Regions from separate parts of the Homo sapiens genome. Here all the other regions are linked to region 2. Evidence: promoter capture Hi-C in 16 types of primary human blood cells and fetal thymus (Javierre and others, 2016). All regions are on one chromosome and are shown on one strand. Each heading gives the region's core, a stretch centred on a gene start or on the middle of the fragment in contact. The rest is flanking DNA. Distances are from core to core; before and after follow the strand shown. Region 1 overlaps LOC105369890 (a long non-coding RNA gene). Region 2 holds the start of RLIG1 (RNA 5'-phosphate and 3'-OH ligase 1). Region 3 overlaps POC1B-DUSP6 (POC1B-DUSP6 readthrough). Region 4 overlaps POC1B-AS1 (POC1B antisense RNA 1). Region 5 has its middle 13 kb from the start of DUSP6. Region 6 overlaps POC1B-DUSP6 (POC1B-DUSP6 readthrough). Region 7 overlaps POC1B-DUSP6 (POC1B-DUSP6 readthrough).

The links. The method cuts DNA at HindIII sites, captures the fragments that hold promoters and counts their contacts. A CHiCAGO score of 5 or more calls a contact.
Region 1: a contact is called between a fragment that was not itself captured here and the fragment with the promoter of RLIG1 in region 2, in 4 of 17 cell types (activated CD4 T cells, naive CD8 T cells, non-activated CD4 T cells and 1 more). The highest score is 6.2, in activated CD4 T cells.
Region 3: a fragment that was not itself captured here is called in contact with the fragment with the promoter of RLIG1 in region 2 in 5 of 17 cell types (non-activated CD4 T cells, fetal thymus, naive CD4 T cells and 2 more); the score reaches 11.0 in non-activated CD4 T cells.
Region 4: a contact is called between a fragment that was not itself captured here and the fragment with the promoter of RLIG1 in region 2, in 13 of 17 cell types (non-activated CD4 T cells, naive CD4 T cells, activated CD4 T cells and 10 more). The highest score is 26.5, in non-activated CD4 T cells.
Region 5: a contact is called between a fragment that was not itself captured here and the fragment with the promoter of RLIG1 in region 2, in 1 of 17 cell types (non-activated CD4 T cells). The highest score is 5.7, in non-activated CD4 T cells.
Region 6: a fragment that was not itself captured here is called in contact with the fragment with the promoter of RLIG1 in region 2 in 3 of 17 cell types (activated CD4 T cells, naive CD8 T cells and M0 macrophages); the score reaches 6.6 in activated CD4 T cells.
Region 7: a contact is called between a fragment that was not itself captured here and the fragment with the promoter of RLIG1 in region 2, in 1 of 17 cell types (non-activated CD4 T cells). The highest score is 6.8, in non-activated CD4 T cells.

Annotation. Positions count from the first base shown.
Region 1 is chr12:89,950,337-89,953,036 of GRCh38, reverse strand. All of the region lies in intron 6 of LOC105369890 (a long non-coding RNA gene), which reads right to left. Among named protein-coding and RNA genes, the nearest start is that of LINC02399, 4.0 kb to the right of the region's middle. The HindIII fragment of the contact is 3,706 bases long and covers 1-2,700 here.
Region 2 is chr12:88,034,149-88,036,848 of GRCh38, reverse strand. RLIG1 (RNA 5'-phosphate and 3'-OH ligase 1) reads right to left here and starts at 1,313. Exons shown (of 7, transcript NM_001009894.3): 1 at 1,111-1,313. The coding sequence starts at 1,200. It overlaps LOC107984542 (a long non-coding RNA gene), which reads left to right and starts at 1,353. Exons shown (of 3, transcript XR_007063395.1): 1 at 1,353-1,435; 2 at 2,502-2,700. The HindIII fragment of the contact is 2,128 bases long and covers 759-2,700 here.
Region 3 is chr12:89,462,113-89,464,812 of GRCh38, reverse strand. All of the region lies in intron 9 of POC1B-DUSP6 (POC1B-DUSP6 readthrough), which reads left to right. All of the region lies in intron 9 of POC1B (POC1 centriolar protein B), which reads left to right. Among named protein-coding and RNA genes, the nearest start is that of GALNT4, 61 kb to the left of the region's middle. The HindIII fragment of the contact is 1,671 bases long and covers 598-2,268 here.
Region 4 is chr12:89,527,056-89,529,755 of GRCh38, reverse strand. All of the region lies in intron 1 of POC1B-AS1 (POC1B antisense RNA 1), which reads right to left. Among named protein-coding and RNA genes, the nearest start is that of POC1B-GALNT4, 2.1 kb to the right of the region's middle. The HindIII fragment of the contact is 4,188 bases long and covers 1-2,700 here.
Region 5 is chr12:89,338,388-89,341,087 of GRCh38, reverse strand. No RefSeq gene overlaps it. Among named protein-coding and RNA genes, the nearest start is that of DUSP6, 13 kb to the left of the region's middle. The HindIII fragment of the contact is 2,292 bases long and covers 260-2,551 here.
Region 6 is chr12:89,495,830-89,498,529 of GRCh38, reverse strand. It overlaps POC1B-DUSP6 (POC1B-DUSP6 readthrough), which reads left to right. Exons shown (of 11, transcript NR_189589.1): 3 at 1,188-1,359. POC1B (POC1 centriolar protein B) reads left to right here. Exons shown (of 12, transcript NM_172240.3): 3 at 1,188-1,359. Among named protein-coding and RNA genes, the nearest start is that of GALNT4, 28 kb to the left of the region's middle. The HindIII fragment of the contact is 642 bases long and covers 1,002-1,643 here.
Region 7 is chr12:89,478,276-89,480,975 of GRCh38, reverse strand. All of the region lies in intron 4 of POC1B-DUSP6 (POC1B-DUSP6 readthrough), which reads left to right. The region is part of intron 4 of POC1B (POC1 centriolar protein B); the gene reads left to right. Among named protein-coding and RNA genes, the nearest start is that of GALNT4, 45 kb to the left of the region's middle. The HindIII fragment of the contact is 278 bases long and covers 1,312-1,589 here.

The DNA of each region.
Region 1 (2,700 bases), core at 118-2,617, 1.9 Mb before region 2:
TAAAATAATTATTTTTAAAAACTATGGCAAAGTTAATGATCCTTATTTGCTCTGTCAGATCCCTTACACTAGAACTATATTTTGTCTGTTTTGCACAGTACTTTTGCCAAGCACACAGGGGAGTTGAAGAGACAGTAGTTGATGGTAATTATCATGCACCCTTTGTTTGTTCACAAGGGACATTTGCTGAAGATTAAAAATAAATTCACAACTAATTGACTGTCAGCCATAAGCTATACTGCTGGGACTTCCAAACTACCAACTGAAAAGAAAACAACTGAGCAAATCTTGCCAAGGCCCAACTCAAAGATTAAAAACAGCCTCCCTATTTAACTTGCCTACAGCACAACTCATCAGATGAAAGGTAACTTCAGTAGTTCTGCAATTCCCTTCCCCAAAGAGCCCACTTTGGGAAATAAACCTTTAATTACAAATGCTATACGGCCGGGCGCGGTGGCTCACGCCTGTAATCCCAGCACTTTGGGAGGCCGAGGCGGGCGGATCACGAGGTCAGGAGATCGAGACCATCCCGGCTAAAAACGGTGAAACCCCGTCTCTACTAAAAATACAAAAAATTAGCCGGGCGTAGTGGCGGGCGCCTGTAGTCCCAGCTACTTGGGAGGCTGAGGCAGGAGAATGGCGTGAACCCGGGAGGTGGAGCTTGCAATGACCCGAGATCCCGCCACTGCACTCCAGCCTGGGCAACAGAGCGAGACTCCGTCTCAAAAAAAAAAAAAAAAAAAAAAAAAAAAATGCTATAACTGGGCCTGCTAAGCTGCCCCTTTCAAGCCACCAATGAGCAGTTATCTACTGAGCACTACCTATTTGCCTGGTACTTGTAGACTCTGAGAATACAATGATAAATAAGATATTCACAACTCTTTCCTCTGTGGTATTCAACCCCAGCAAGGAAGGAGTATAGTTAGAAACTTTACTTAGTGAAAGAAAGATGAGGAAGACAGTAATGACGCATTCCAATGGCAAACACACCTCTACTTCTTAGTTTTATTTCTTTGTCACACCTACCTCAAGTTGAAGGCAGCAATCTTTATAGTTCTATACCTCATGCATGAAAGACAATCCAGGAAACCTTAAAAATTGTCTGTCCCAATGAACCATGACCCACAATGGTATAAGAACATCGACAAAATATGAACAACAATGGTAAAATATAATCAACTCACTAATGAGTCATGTGCATGATCCGGAGGCACAGGTAAGACAAGACTGGTTTATTTAAGGGCTTAGTTCTCCTTTGGAAATGGAGCTAATCTTGTCAGAATAGCAGTTGAGCTATTCCTCTCTCCTTTCCCTATCCATCTTTCCCCCTCCCAGATCTTCTCTCTTTTTTTTCCCCCTTTGGCTTCCTATCTGCATCTACCTTCTTTCTTTCACAAAGCCTGACTCCATAGATGATGGTTGTATGATAGGCATTGTTAATGTCCACCAATTTCTAATTATTTACTTTTGGTTAGAAAGGAGATTACATTTCCATGTTCCCTTGAAGTTAGATGCTGCCATGTGACTCATTTTGCCCAAAGGCATGTGAATGACACTCTGGACTAAGGCTTCTATGGCTTGTGTTTGACTTGCCAGCTCTTTCTCATCCCCTGCTGGGGTGAACCCTGAAGCCTGACGTCATTAGATGGCAGTGTCATAAAATGACAGAGTCTCCTTCAGCCTTACTCCGTATGTGACAGTGATAAGCAAAGCTCTCCCTGACACCATGAATGAGAAATAACCTGAAATTTTAGAGTTGTTATCACAGGATAACCTACACTATTCTGACACAAGTAAAAGAAGAAAGATACTAACCAGCACATGCAGTCATAAGGATGTTGGCAACAGGATTCATTTAGCACACATTTACTGAATTGGCATGTAAGTGAAAGAATCCAACATGAGAAAATAGAGAAAAGATAAAGTTGTTGCCCTCAAAGAGAGGGCAAAAAAAGAAAAAAAATTGACAAATGTAAAAACAATTATGGTAGAATTTTACATATATATTTTTTAAATCAGTCAAATATGGTAAGGAAAAGTTTGGGAAATCTTTGTCTAAAGAGCGTGCAGCTGGAAGCTAGGAGTCCAGTCCTGCCATGTTTTTGTAAGTCATTACCATTGTTATCATCATCAACCTATTTATTATTACAGAGCATGTGTGACTTCAGGCAAGACACTAAACTCTTTTTTTGCATCTTTAAAGTAGAGGGAAAATACTATTTCTCTTTTTTAGATTACTGAAATGTGATTAATACCCAAGAGGATAGAATGTCTATGTACTCTGAATTCTTAAGACAAAACAACATCTCAGGCAGAGTGTTTAGTGAAAAGCCCCTGGCTGAGGTTTCAATACTTGTGTACAATTGAGCAAAAGTCAGAAAGCCTTGGTCTTTTTATATCTCAGCCAAAGGTGTCTACTGAGCTTTCACTGTGTGCCAGCTACCATGCCAGGCTCTAGAGATGGGCCAGTGAACAAGGCATTGTGCTTGTCTCACTCTAAAAACTGGCAGAGAACATGAACATTAAACTTTAAGTATTATGATCATTAATTGCATAATTACAAACGTTCTAAGAGCTCCACAGGATTCCACTGGACCATTTGACTGAGAGACCTAAGTGGCTTATCAGGGATGGCTGATAAACTGAGTTTGGAAGAATCTGTAAAATTAGTATCACAATGTACTTTTAAGGTGGCTATAA
Region 2 (2,700 bases), core at 64-2,563:
TAAAAAAAAAAGCCAATTACTGCTACAAACATTGAGTAATAACTGTGGTATTCTGACGAGGAAAGAACATGGTGATGATCAGTCTGAGTGGCAAGTAAGACCAGTTAGGTGGTGCAATGAGCAGGACATGAAATATTAACTGTAACAGCTGTGACAGCACTAGAAAGCAGGAAAAGATCAGATGCTATAAGGTAAAAAGCATCAAGGTGAATGGAAAACTGGCATGAAATGATTCCAGGGTTCATTCTTTAATTCAACAAATATTTATCCAGTGCCTACCACGTGCCAGGTCCTAGAAGCTGGGACTAAAGATAACAGGGCAATCTTTGCCTTAAACAAGTTTTAGTCCAGAAGACGAGAAAGCCAGTGCCAATGATGAAACTCAAGTGAGGTGGATTTCCAATGGACATGTTGGTTTTGTTTGAAATCAGCAAAGTTGGGAAGCACCCAACTAATCACTGGGGATTCTACTGATCAAAGACTACAACGTTTTATAGTACAATATGAAAAAATTACCCAAATATAGGTTACTCACTAGCATTTACCGAGGGCACACTATGGAAAACACGTTGCTGCAACAGAAAACCTTGAGAACACCAAAGTTAGAATAAATTAAGTAATTACTGGTAATATGAGGTGTGAACTTCAGTGACCTAATTAGGCTACTGTCAACACCGCCACTGGTTCGGACAGAACAGGTAAAGCAAGTCTTCTAATATCCACCCTTTCTTACTGCACTCTTGAAAAGTAGTAAAGCTTGGACTGTGGCAATTACCTGATTAGGGGGTTTCCCCAAAAGGTGCTGACCTGAAAAGGAAGGGACATGCTGTGGATGTGAGTTATCCATTTCCTTGCGAGGACAAGTTTGAATCTCCTGATAAGGAAAATTCTTTCGCAAATTCCCTCCCTCACAACTAAGAAAAGTACAAGAACCTGGAGCTCAGGGCGTACGGAACTCCCACCCCAGACCTCCCCAGGGAAACCTACAGAGGTTCCTGGCCTGCAGGGCAGTTCTAAAGCGCCCAGCCGCCCTCGCCGGGTTCGCACTGAGCCAGCGCCGCGGGGAGGAGCCCACGCGGGCCGCCAAGCCTGCCCGGCGCTCCTCCGTACCTGATGCTCCCTTTTGGAGGAAGGCTCCTCTTTCACCTCCGTCACAAACACACACGGCATTTTCCGCTGCACGGAGCCCAAGCGCTTCATGATGAGCCCAACAAGCAGTGCGAATGGAGGGCGTGCTTTCGAGCGGCGCCCGGTCCAGTCGCGGAGAAGCCCTGAAGCAGTCACCCGCACGGCTCAGGCCACGCACACTCCGCGCCCAGCCACCGCGGCTGCGCCCCAACTACCAAGCCCAGCGAGGGGCGGGAACGCCCGTCCAGAAGCGGCTTCCTGGCCGCGGCGCCTTCTGGGAGTTGTAGTGCAGAAGCTGAGGCGCCTGGTGGGTTCCCACGTGCGTCCTCCGCCCCCCACCCTCGGTTTTAATAACCGTGAAAAAAAAAAAAAAAAGATGCGTTTCCCGAACGTGGGTACTTAGCAATACCTAGTAACTAATGATTTTTTGGGAAATTAAATAAGATCAAATTATAAGCAATGAACATTTCAGATGTCGATTTAACACAGTTCCAATGGAAACTGCTTGCCTGTTATCTTTAGTTCGTGGGGGAAGCACTGTAGAAGTTTAGAAATGGCTAGAGACATCCCCAGATTCCCAAGCAGAATGAAAACTTCCTTTCCGGTAAGACTATCAGAAAACCCTATAATAAAACACCTGGGATCAAAAAAAGTTGTCGTTTGAACTACTCCTTATTGTGCAGCATAGCATGGTCGAAATGATTCTGATGTTCTTTTCGGAGTGAGTGCGAAATTTCAGCCTTAGACTAATCCAAAAGTACAGGAATACCTACAACCAGATTTCATTCTCAAGTTTTTCATAAGAATCTTGTTTAATTAAAGGTGAGCTCCAACAGCCCAAATGGCTTGAGTAATGGTAGTCAATCAACTGCGAGCTAAAAACAGCCTTAACTTACTGCTCAAAAGAATATTTTGAGGGTAAGTGATAAGATGGACAATGACTAAATAAAATAAATACTAAATATTTAGGAATAGTAGCCTTTCCATCTCATTGAATGTAGTAGTTCCTAGCCTGAAGTTGTAGGGGAATTTTGACTTTACTGCCATCCTTTATGGGCTTGGACTAGGCCCAGGTCTCATTTCTTTGTCTTATCTGCATGTACTCAACTGTCCAGCATGTTACTGACTTAGCCCTTGGAAAAATTAAACAACTATATCTCACTTAGAGGTATCTAACTAGTAAGGGGGTTCTCAAAGAATAAAACATCTTCCTTTAAAAAGTTCACAGTTATATTGAATACTGACAGTGAAAAAAAATAAAATTTAAAAAAAGTTCACAGTTTTTTGATTACTGGATTCAGAGGGGAGGGAGGAAGAAAGAGATTTGCCATTTCAAAGTGTTTACTTTCTTTTCTACTATCTTTTTCTCACAGGAAAACACAAAATGTTCTCCCACATCACACCCCGCCTGCATTTATCAAAAAAGAAAACACCTGATGCTGGCTGTGTGCTGTTGGAACCAGAAACTTTTTAGCATATTATAGTCGAGTGCCAGTGACTTCTTTGTTCTTTCAGAGGCATTCTAAAAAGCGGCGTGTTTCACGAATCTCAGAGACAACAACTTTCACAACT
Region 3 (2,700 bases), core at 184-2,683, 1.4 Mb before region 2:
TTTTTTTTTTCCTGAAAAAATCTCTTGGGCCAGGTGCGGTGGCTCATGTTTGTAATCCCAGCACTTTGGAAGGCCGAGGTGGGCGGCTAATGATGTCAGGAGTTCGAGACTAGCCTGACCAACATGGTGAAATCCCGTCTCTACTAAAAATACAAAAATTTGCTGGGTGTGGTGGCGCGTGCCTATAATCCCAGCTACTCAGGAGGCTGAGGCAGTAGAATCGCTTGAACCTGGGAGGCGGAGGTTGTAGTGAGCCGAGATCATGTCAGTGCACTCCAGCCTGGGCAACAGGGCAAGACTCCGTCTCAAAAAAAAAAAAAAAAAAAAAACTCTTATAAAAAAGTCAAGGTTATGAAATTTTCTAGACAGGGAACAACTTTAGTATTATGAATAAATAATTGTTAAGTACCAAATTGTGTTTTAAAGACTCTACTTCAAATTAATAAATATGGATCCCTCACTAAGCCAAAGACTACTTAGTTCAAAACTTTCACACAGAATGGAATAGTCAGAATAGAAGTTGTGCTGTGTTCATTTATGATTAGTAAACTTTACTTTGAAATACTAAATTCAGTAGATTAAGTTTTTTTCAAAGCTTTAGGCAAATTTACATGCAGTTACTTGGGAAATATTTTAAAACTAAGAAATCTTTTTTTGAGGTCAGTATTAGGATTTAAGGAAAATAAACATCTTATTAAAATATGTAGAATAAATGGTATCTAAGTGAACTGATGAATTTTTCTTTCTCTGTTTGCAGTGACCATGAGTGTTTTATTTCTGAGTTTGAAACGAGATAACATTTTTATGATTTGTATTATGTTTTCTATGAGACTCATCTGAATTGCATAATCTCAATCTGCTGAGTAAAATAGTTTGGCCTTTTGCAAAAGCCACCCCTTTGCTAGCCTTAAGCGCTTCACTTGTTTGAAGGTGGGGAATCCTGCAGAGTCTTAGATCTTGGGTACCAGCTGACTAAATGTATAAATTACTAATTCCTACATGGATAGAGGGGGTGATAGCCATATTACTTTTAAAATAAATGAGAGAAGGAGGCCACATGAAAGAAGGCATGAAATATCAAATTCTCTCTATGTGAAATAGCCCCCTCCCGGGTTCTTCCTACTTATCTAACTACAGATCCTTCGTAGTACTCCTGGCCTAGGCACTCCATCTTAATTAAAAACATGAGAACAGTACCTCTCTCTCTTTTTTTTGATGGGAAAGAAGCCCAGTTTTTACACAAGGTATCTTGACCCTACCCATGTTGTGCTATAGCACATCACTAGTTCATGCTGACTTTATCTTCTTCAGACTGTCATGAGTTGGATTGCATTGTCCTGCCCCTAGACAAAACCAGACTTTCCTTCAGTGTGTGTGTGTGTGTGATATTTTTCTCCGGAGCAGCAGTTCCCTTCTTTCTTACACATTTTGATGAGAAGACAGTAGAGCCACTCTAAGCGATGGCGATAGCTCTTAATGACAGTAAAGCATCAAAATAGTTATTCTAGGAGAATTGCAGAATATTGTAAGCAGGGATTATAATTGGTTAAAAAGATTTTTTTAATAAAATAATGTTCTGATGGCTTTCAGTTTTTTATGGCCATTTTAGATTACCTTAACATATAAATTGCATATGAAATTCTGTATGATATTTAGCAGGAAGGAAAATGTCCTTTACCTTAACCAAATATTTATATAATAATATTTTGTGATAGTCTGACCATGATTCATTGTTGAAAAGTACAAGTGATCAATTTAAGTTTTTAAGTCTGAGATTGGGTTTTTATCTCAATCTTCTAATAAGGTTGAAAACATCACCATTTATGATTTTTTAAAATGACCACTTGTCTATCCATTTTGTATTCTACTTCTAACTGGGGTATATGTTTATACTGTTTCAGGCCTCAGTAAATGTTCATTACATGATGATAAAGTCTAACAGTTATACAAGACTGTTCTAAGTGTTTTATACAAATTAAGTTAATATTCCTAAAATCTCGGTGAAATAAGTACCACTATTATCCCATGAGAAATTGAGGTCTATGTTAGTTAAATCTTAAAGTTAGTAAGTGGCAGCAGTAGAATTTCAACCCAGGCACTCTGGTTCCATTCTGTGTTTTTAACCACTTTGATGTAATGCTTCAATATAAACAAAATTACATTTTATCCTGTTAACAGATATTAAAGTATCTGTGTGCTGGACGTTGTACTAGCTTTAGAGTATGCAGCAGTGAACAAGATGGGCATACTCCTTGCTCTTTAGAAGCTTGTAGTCTAGTGAAGGCTTATGGAATTTATTAGTAGAGGTTTTATGTTCGTGGACTCCTCAGTATCATGGACACAGAGAACCTCAATGGGGGATGTGGGATGGTACCTTTGAGGTCATACAGGCTAACCTTTACCTCATTCATTAGTCCCAGTTATATACCCTTGTTCAGCCATGGAGAACTTGGCCTCTCATAGGCAGCCCACTTCATTTCAAGGCAGCTCTAATTATTAACATATTCTTCCCTTTAATAAATATCAGGAGCTACAAGGTACTGTTAGTATTCCTGAGAGTTAGCTAGCAAAGAATTTAACCATATCACCCCCTCAGCATATTTTCTTTATGGAGAGGACTATAAATGTTACTTAGTAAGAACTTCCAGCTCTATTTAACTTATGTGGCAGCAACTTACGCAGTTAAATACTGTTAATTAC
Region 4 (2,700 bases), core at 67-2,566, 1.5 Mb before region 2:
TAAAACCTTGTAGGTTTTTAAATACTGATCCTGCTTGTGGCTCCCACCCACATAAATGATTAGGTTGCAGTCCAGAGAGGTCTAAATAATCATTGTAGCAAGTGGAATTAGGCTTGAGGTTAGAAAAAACTTCCCCAACTTTGACCACATTTCCAATTGTCTACCTCTGAGCTTTTGCTATTTGCAAAGGTGAAGAAAAGCCGAAAAGAACAAAATCAAATACTATGGAAAAGAACAATGGGAAGGGCAGTTTAGAGTAATAAATGAGGACAGTGGAATGAAAATAAAGGAGATATTACTTTCATTTTGTAAAACTTATTATTATAAACCTTGGCAAGAATGCAATGTTTTATACATTTACATAACACTTGCAATCACACAAAAGTCATGACAGTGATTAAGAGAGTGGATTCTGGGCCAGGTGAGGTGGCTCACACCTGTAATCCCAGCACTTTGGGAGGCCGAGACAGGCGGATCACGAGGTTAGGATATTGAGACCATCCTGGCTAACACGGTGAAAACCAGTCTCTATTAAAAAAAAAATACAAAAAAAATTAGCCGGGCTTGGTGGCGGGCGCCTGTAGTCCCAGCTGCTCGGGAGGCTGAGGCAGGGGAATGGCGTGAACCTGGGAGGCGGAGCAGCTTGCAGTGAGCCGAGATCGCGCCACTGCATTCCAGTCTGGGCGACAGAGTGAGACTCCGTCTCAAAAAAAAAAAAAAAAAAGAGAGAGTGGATTCTGGAGGCAGACTGCGAGTGTCTAAAAATCTCAACTCTGCCACTTCCTAGTTAGCAGTGTGCCTTGGGCAAGTAACTTAATGTCTTTGCATATCAATTTACTCATCTATAAAACGGAAATGGTAATAATAGCACATCTCTAATAAGATCGTTATGATCACTAAATGTCAAAATTTGTAAGGTACTTAGAAAAGTCCTGGCATGTAGTGAAAACATAGGTAGGTATATTAGTCCGTTCTCACATTGCTATGAAGAACTACCTGCGACTGGGTAATTTACAAAAAAAGCGGGTTTAATTGGCTCATGGTTCTGCAGGCTGTACAGGAAGTATGGCTGGGGAGGCCACAGGAAACTTACAAACATGGTGGAAGGCAAAGGGGAAGAGAGCATGGCTGCTCCATGGCTGGAGCAGGAGGAAGAGAGCAAAGGGGGAAGTGCTACACACTTTTAAACAACCAGATCTCGTGATAACTCACTCAGAACAGCAAGGGAGAAATCCACCCCCATGATCCAATCACCTCCCACCAGCCCCCTCCTCCAACACTGGGGATTACAATTCTACATGACAGTTGGGTGGGGACACAAATCCAAACCATATCAGTAGGTGACAAATTTTTTAAGATCAACTTTAGGTAATAGGATTAATATGTAGTTTCCCTCCCATCTTTTAAATTTAAAACATGTGTTTCTTGATAATTGAGAAAAAAAGTAAAAGCTAAACTTTTACTAAAACACTTAAATAAAAATCTATATTTTTTCTTCTTGTGAGCTAGTTTCTAAATCTCCAACTTCTTCCCTTTTCTGCTTCTCCTGTGCCCAATATTAGACGTAACATACCTATGAGTAATCCTGAGGTCCTGATTACTCTTCAGCTTCTGGCATTATTATTTTATTATTGGGGTGAAATACCTGTAATGAAATTTACCATTTTACCCATTTTTTAGGTGTACAATTCACTGGCATTAAGTACATTCACAATGTTGTGCAAACATCACCACTATCTATTTCCAGAACTTCATCATCCCAAACAGAAACTCTGCACCCATTAAACAGTAACTCCCCAGTCTCCCTTACCCCCAGCCCTAGTAACCTCTATTCTACTTTCTGTCCTTATGAATTCACCTATTCTAGGTACCTCATATGAATGGAATCATACAATATATGCTCATTTGTGTTTGGCTTATTCACTTAGCAAAATGTTTTCAAGGTTCATCCATGTTATAGCTTGTATCACAATTTCATTTCTTTTTATGGCAGGATAATATTTCCTTATATGTATATATCACATACATTTTGTTTATCCATTCATCTGTTGGATACTAGGATTGTATCCACTTTTTGGCTATTGTAAATAATGCTTGCTTTGAACACTGGCATCTGTTGGAGTCTCTGCTTTCAATACTTATGGGATATACCTAGCAGTGAAATTGCTGGATTATAAGGTAATTGTATGTTTAACTTTTTAGGAACTGACAAACTTTTTCACAGAGCTACATCATTTTACATTCCCACCAGTATCCAGCATTAGTTTTAAACATGGCAGGCTTTTAAAATAAATCAAGCCTAAACTGGTAATATGTAGCAAAACTAAGAGTCCTGCAACAGTTTGCTGACAAGTTGCTGATATCAACACTCTTAACATATCATCTCCTAGACTAATGCAGTGTTTCTCAACATAGACAGCTGAGACTCCCATAGTAATCATCTATGGAGCTTGTTACATCAGAAGGGCCCTGGATCCCACCTTGTATATGTTGATTCAGCATCTCTGGAAATGGAGCCCCCAAATCAACATTACAAATGCTAAAGCATGAGACTCACCAACCCTAGATTGCTGAGTTCTTGAAGGTAGGGGAAATATCTTAGTCATCATTGTGTCCCTCAAGGCCAAACATACAACAGATATTTAACAAGTGTATACTTAAATTAACTAATACTGTAATCTAAAGCCTACCTGTTTAGTT
Region 5 (2,700 bases), core at 156-2,655, 1.3 Mb before region 2:
GATCATTTGAGATTCAGGCTTCTTCTGTCTTTGATCTTAAAGATCACAAGATAGAGATTCCCTGTCCAGTCATACATTCTGTCACCGAAAGAAGGAAAGAGAAAAAGAAAAAAGGTTTACTTCCTTGAGTCAATTCTCTTAAAGATGCCTGCTGGAAATCCTACAGCAGACTTGTACTCCATGTTCTTAATGGCTGGAATTAGCCACATGGCCATAGCTAGAGAGGCTGGGGATACAGACTTTCAGTTGGACACAAGCTTCCCCTAATATTAGTTTGGTGCAAAAGTAATTGTGTTTTTTGCCATTACAATCATTGCAAAAACTGCTATTACTTTTGTACCAATATAACTGAGGTTCTGTTTCTCAGGAAGTAGGGGGCACTGAATGTTAGTCATCTACCTTCTTCTTTTCTGGAGAAAACTCCATTCCCATCATAGGGAAGGGTATATAACCCAGCCCAGGCCAAAAAAGGCCTCATTTTCTGGTTTCAGTGATTGTTTCAGGGGTGGGACATGATTCCATTTCAGCCAATCAACTTATACCTTGGATTCATCTATGGAAAGGATTTTCTCTTAGAGTTGCTAAGCCCCGGACTTACTGATTCAGAATTTTTGGAAATGAAGCCTGGGAATCTGGTTTTTTATAAATGGCCCTCAGGTGATTCTTTTGATTGTCCTGTTTGGGAATTACCAGATCTGCCATGTGTAGTAAACCAACATTTAATCTAGCATCTCCTCTCTTAGGGCATTCAAAGAACAACAGCATTAAAGGGAGCTTGCTAGATGTCTTTCCAAAGATGGACATCAAAAGGCTGAGCATATAGTGTAGGTATAACTGCACCATAACTATCATGGGCTCACAACTATAGACTTTTAGAGTTATGATTTTTTTTCTAGTTTGTTACTTGCCCTATAAAGTAGCACTTGAAAATATAAATAGTCCTAAAAGCACTTTTTTAAAAATTTTACCAGGGCTTCTAGGTCTGCTTTGCTGGGATTTGGTGTCAGAATCTGTGTTCACTTAATCAGTACCCTTTGTGATTTTATCAACCTGATCCGCCAACTCTTATGTTTTGTCTTTCTAGGCTGAAGTGTTTTAAAGTCTCTTTGGTTTCTTTTCAAACCCTAATCATTTTAAGGGACCTCCTTTAAGTAAGTTCCAGTTTCATTATGCCATTTTTCAGGTTTGATGGCTGGAACTATACTCAGTATTTCTGGAGCCAATGAATTCTGGTGTCTCTCTGTGTATATGTGTGTGCGTGTGTGCAAACGCTCATAAGATTGTGCTTTCTATTTTGTTTTTGACATCCTTCCTGATGATGCTTGCTTTTGTGACTGCCACAATACATTGGACCGACCCCTTCAGGGAATGGTCGGCAATGATGCCATCATCCTTTTCCTGGATCACGTCTGCACTCGGAGTCCTTGGTCTTCTAAGCACGAGGTGCGTTCTCTTTTCCTGCAGCTATTCCTGTGCAACCAACTGCACTGAGCACGGCTATTTACTGGCTACTCACACATCTCTGCAAGACCTTCCTGACGTTTATTATTGTCATGATGATGTTTGAATTCTCAAAAAATCTCTGTGTCATCTATTGATTTGAATTTTCACTTTATTGATGTTTAAACCACTTTTGAAAAATGATAGGCATACATACATACAGATTCATGAAATACACATTTTTAATATATCCTCCAGCAGAATAGTGATTACTTCTTTAATATGCCCTTATAATATCCATCAGCAGCCCACAATAATAGAATCTGATTGACAAAACAGTGAGCTTCATATTAAAATATAGCTTTACGATAATTTCAAAATTCCTTATCCCCCTCCCCCAATTTCAATGAGATTGTTATTCCCAAACCCTTCCTATAAGGATATTTTGGAATTGCCACTGATCTCTATCCAAGGTTTCACATTTTTGAGTCCCTTCTAACTCTTTGACAGAAGCAATTCAGGTTTAAAACTTTTAAAATGAGAAATGCTGGCTGAGTGGACCATAAATTATGCCCATGGTTTGATGAGGCTATCTCTGTTCTGATCCTATTTTCAGCTGAGGAGTGATGGTTACAAGCTCAGTCAGTGGGTTCAGTTTTCCCAGATGTGAACCCAGATCTGTCACTTGTTAGCCATGTGACCTTGCCTAGTCTGTGTAGATCCTCAATTTCAGACAAGTCTCTCTGAGCCTTGGTTTCTTCACCTGTGCAATGAGAATAATAATAACACTTAGCTGATGGAGTTGGGAGGATTCAATGAGAAAATTGACGTAAAGCACCTAGAAAAATGCAAATAAATTGTAATTGATGAGGCTCTGGGGAATGGAATTATGTATGCCACTATTCATTTATTAATTCAACAAGGCATAGACAACCTATTATATTCAGGGAATGTTCTGAGTGCCATAAAGAGATAAATTAGACACAAATTTGACCTTTCAGCCTTGAAATGAAAACAGCCTTGAACATAAATCATTATAAGATATAAAGTAACAAGTAGCATAAAGAACATAGTCTCTGGATTTAGACTCTTGCAGGTTCAAATATAAGCTTCATCACTAGCTACCTGTGTAACCTTAGGCCAGGTGCTTAATCTTAGTAAGTTTCCCATCTGTTAAAAAATGGAAATAATAATGGTATTTACCTCACACTGTTGTTATCCGGATTAAATGAGAAAATGCACGTAAAATGCTCAGCACTT
Region 6 (2,700 bases), core at 73-2,572, 1.5 Mb before region 2:
TATATAGCCAGGCCCTATGTTTCTCTAACAGTGATACTAATTGTGTTCGAATTTATAACATTACATTTTTTTCTAAGCACTCTACAATCCAGATTTAGTGATTCTCATTGACCTACTTCCTATTATTGGAGCCATTCTAGGGCTACATGCATATAATAAAATTTGTTTTTTAGGCAAGAGTTAGATCTACCTTTCATTTGTTTATTTGTTCATTCTTTGTCAAGTCAGTTATTTCCACCATTGATTGCATTTTTCCTTTTTGTAAATCCTTAAACTATTGTCTGACACACACGATTCTTTTAATTCTTTTATTAATCATCAAATGCCATTAAATTATAGAGCAGAAAGAGACTAATAAAATCATCTTATCCAGCTATAAAAGTATTATTGGATCAGTTGATAAAATATAGTTGCTATATTAAAATATTGCATCTTTAATAATCAGCTTCATGAAGCTGCTAACTGTGCTATGGGTGTGTTAAGAGACTATCTTAAATCTTAGGAAAAACACACTGAAGTATTTAGGAATAAAGATGCTGTGAGTTGCATAACTTACTCCTAAATGGTTCAGGAACAAAAAAATACGTATGTGTTTGTGTGTGTGGGTTTACGTGTGTTCATGCGCAAGGAGAAACAAGTACAGAGCAAATTACAAACCAAATGAAGCAAAACATTAACAAGTAGATTTGGGTAAAAGGCATATTAGTGTTATTTGTACTATTCTTGTAACTTTTCTGTAAGTGTGAAATTATTTCCACATAAACAGTTTGAAAAATTATCTCATCCATCCCTCTCAGGAAAAACATTCAGTCCTCATGACATCATGACACAGAGGTTAACTAGCTTTCCATTACCCAGAGTTAGAAACAAAACTGACTCTTAGTCCCGTGTACCCTCTGTTACACTGTGCTGCGGCCTTCTAGTAAATAAAGTTACTGAGCGCTAATTGAATACGGGGGCCAGTCATCCTGCTGTGTGCTTACATAGGACACAGCCAAGCTTGCATATTAGTGATGTAGTTTTGAGTACCTTTAAAAAGTAATTTGGCTATTACCTGGGCAGCCTTACAACCTCCAGCCGCTCTATTACCTGGATGCCTTGTTATTAGATATGCTGCTCATTGTAATGAGACACACCTATGTTTGCATTTTAACAAACAGTGGTTTTGTTCTTCTATTTCTTGATAGCTACTGCTTCTTGGGATACCTTTCTCATGCTATGGAATTTCAAGCCACATGCTAGAGCTTACAGATATGTGGGTCACAAGGATGTTGTAACCAGCGTGCAGTTTTCTCCACATGGAAACTTATTGGCGTCTGCCTCACGAGACAGAACCGTGAGACTCTGGATTCCTGATAAGTAAGAGAAACAAAGAAACACTTGATATCCTTTGGATTTGGAAATGTGAAAGAAAGCTGACCCTGGCTGCTGCTCATGCACTGCTGCCTGCACTGTTATTCTCAGTCACATAAAAGGCATGCTGCCCTTGTGGTAAAGTCAAACTAATTCATACAATTTTTTTCCTCAAAATTATGTCTTCTTTTTGAAAACTATTTCCTACCATGGAAATATGCTTAATATGTCTAAGTTTTTTTGAGGGAGTAGTGGTAGCTATCCATCCCTTTGTAGATCTGAGGTAAGCTTTAGACTGTCTCCCCAGAATGATACACATCAGTATGTATAACCAAAAATTCAGTTTATTAACTTCCTAACGCCCGTTCATGGATCCTTCAAGGGCCCTTGGATCCCTATTGAAAACCCTGTGCCTTTGATTTGATTTGTATCACTCATTATCGGGGTCCAGAATTTTCTTGTTAAAGAAAATTTCTGACAAAAGTTTAAATCGTTGAATTTGTGTAAGGTCATATGCGTTATAACAAATCTCTGTAACGAGACTTTTCAAACCCTAACTAATAGCCCATCTATTTTAAGTAATTATTGAGCCATGATTTTTAAAAATGTTTTTAAGCTTTAAAGTATGTAAATTTTCAAGCATACATGAAAATAGAATGAATAGCATCACTCCCCTGCCTCATATTCCCGTCAATCAGCTTCAACAGTTGTCAGGATTCTGCCCATCTTGTTTCATCTACACCTCCCCTCACTTTTTCCCCTGGAGTATTTTTAGAAAAAATCCTACATATCATTTCCCCCCATAAATACTTCAGAGCAGAGATTCCCAACCCCTGGGCCACTGACCAGTACCAGTCCATGGCCTGTTAGGAACCAGGCCAGAGCTCTGCCTCTTGTCGGATCAGCGGCGGCATTAGATTCTCATAGGAGCACAAACCCTATTGTGAACTGTGCATGCGAGGGATCTAGGTTGCACACTCCATATGAGAATCTCATGCCTGATGATCTGTCACTGTCTCCCTTCAACCCAGATGGGACCATCTAGTTGCAGAAAAACAAGCTCAGGGCTTCCATTGATTCTACATTATAGTGAGTATGTAATAATAATAGAAATAGGGCTGGGCACAGTGGCTCACGCCTGTAATCACAGCACTTTGGGAGGCCAAGGCAGGCAGATCACCTGAGGTCAGGAATTTGAAACCAGCCTGGCCAACATGGTGAAACCCTGTCTCTACTAAAAATACAAAGTTAGCCAGGCGTGGTGTCACGCACCTGTAATCCCAGCTACTCGGGAGGCTGAGGCAAGAGAATTGCTTGAACCTGGGAGGTGGAGGTTGCAGTGAGCCG
Region 7 (2,700 bases), core at 201-2,700, 1.4 Mb before region 2:
TCACTTGAGGCCAGGAGTTTGAGACCAGCCTGGCCAACATGGCAAAACCCCATCTCTATTAAAAATACAAAAATTAGGCTGGGCGTGGTGGCTCATGCCTGTAATCCCAGCATTTTGGGAGGCCAAGGCGGGCAGATCACAAGGTCAGGAGATCGAGACCATCCTGGCTAACATGGTGAAACTCCATCTCTACTAAAAATACAAAAAATTAGCCGGGTGAGGTGGCGGGCGCCTGTAGTCCCAGCTACTCAGGAGGCTGAGGCAAGAGAATGGCGTGAACCCCAGGGGGCGGAGCCTGCAGTGAGCCGAGATCTTGCCACTGCACTCCAGCCTGGGCGACAGTGAGACTCCGTCTCAAAAAAAAAAAAAAAAAAAAAAAATACAAAAATTAGCCAGGCATGGTGGCGCACACATGTATTCCCAGCTACTCGGGAGGCTGAGACACAAGAATCGTGTGAACCTTGGAGGCAGAGGTTGCAGTGAGCCGAGATCATGCCACCGTACTCCAGACTGGCAGCAGAGTGAGACTCTATAAAAAAAAAAAAAAGAATTATAAATTAGCTTTATAACTTATCAGTCTCTTGCAAGAAGTGAGTGGATTGCTTGAGTCCAGGAGTTTGAGACCAGCCTGGGCAGCCTGGCAAAACCCCATCTCTACAAAAAATACAAAAATTATCTGGGCATGGTGGCATGCACCTGTAGTCCCAGCTACTTTGGAGGTTAAGGTGGGAGGATCACCTGAGCCTGGGAGGCCTATGCTGCGGTAAGTTGAGACGGTGCCACTGCACTTCAGCCTGACTAATGGAGTGAGACCTTGTCTCAAAAAAAAAAAACGAAAGAAGAAACTTGTCCAACCAGTTTTCAAAACATAATATAAAACCATAGTAATTAAAATATGGTGATAATGGTACAGGATTAAGAAAAGAGGTCATATAAAGCCCAGAAGCAGATACATGTGTATATGAGAACTTACAATAAATGTGGCATTTCCAATCAGTGGGGAAATATATGGTCTATTTAATATGTAGTTAAGATAACTAGATTTATATTTGGAAAAATATAAAGTTGAATATTTTACCAAAAAAATTTAGATGAATTAAACAACTAGATATTTAAAATAATCCAAATGGTACTGCTTTTCCTCCCAGTGCATGGATAGTGTACTTAAATGAATGTAGAGGATCAGTAGAGCAATTGTTTCTGCCTTTAGTATTTGAATTTTAAATGTATGCCATGGACTTAAGTAATTAAAATTCTGTGTCTATCTCGGTGCCCAGTACTTTCTATGAGTTTGTTCTTGGAGCCCAAGCTTATTCAGTGTCGCACAGAGATGGTGCCCATTAGTGTAAGAGGAGGTGAATAGGTAGTTTCTCTAGACTAACCTTTGTTATAATCTAATTTAACAAAGGTTAATTTAAATAAATAAGGTATACCATATATTTGGAAATACATTCATGCTTTTAAAATGTAAATAGTATAGTCTTTTTATAAGTCTATTTGCAAAATATGTCAGGCATCTTTGTTGCAGTGATTCTACAACCAAAAATGTGTCCAAAATAAATACTTTTTTGCCATCACATGAAAAAGCTTTGTATTCAAAGGTGGTGCTTTCAGTATAATTTGAAATGATGAGAAATTAGAAATAACCGATTTTTCCAATTTTTATTTCAAATAAAAAACCTAGTTAAATATAGTTAGATTATGATGTAACCAGTAAAAAGGGAGTCTATATGCAAGTTATGGCATGAAAATATGTTTACATGGGGAAATGGAATGCAGTGGTTATATTATAAAAGACCTATGCATGAACAAAAGATGAGGTATCTATTATACACAAGATATTAAGTGTAATTGTGTTTGAGTGACAAGATCTGGACTTTTAAAATTTTCTGTATTTCTCAACTTTTAAACATATGATGAAGAAAACATCATTTGAAATACATGTATGTAGGTGAGAAATATCTTTTTACTTACAAAAGAATTTTTCTAAAAGTTAAAATTAGTATAGCCCTTTGTTTTTAAAAACAATGCACGTATTGTGGGATAACTTACATTTCTTTATAGTGTTCTTAATAAAAAATAAGTAGAAGTTAATGTAGTAGAGAACTTTTCCGAGTCTGTTGCTTTTCCAGCATTGATTTTTTGGGAGTAAATATCTGCCTATAATTTTCAGTTGTTGATAGGATTACAAAGTGATCTTTTGACCATCTGAATTGAAAAGATTTTGTGAAATTGTGGTAAAATATATATAACAAAATTTACCATTTTAACCATTTTTATGTATACAGTTCTGTGGCATTAGGTATATTCACATTGTTGTGCAACGAATTGCAAAGATTTTTCTCAGCTTACATTGGCTATATATAATATTAAGTTAGTTTAAATTCCCTTAAAACTTTTTTTTTTAATTTCCTAAACATTTACTAAGGACCTACTCAGTGCCAGGCACTGTGTCTGGGGATAGAGCATTGAGTGAGACAGATGTGAGTTGCCTCTTCTTGCTTATATTCTATTAGGGAAGCCAGCGTGGAGCACTGAGGTATAAATGTGGATGTGGGGCCAGGCGTGGTGTTTAACGCCTGTAATCCTAACACTTTGGGAGGCTGAGGCGGGTGGATCACTTGAGGCCAGGAGTTCAAGACCAGCCTAGCCAACATGGCGAAACCCCATCTCTACTAAAAATACATAAATTAGCCAGAT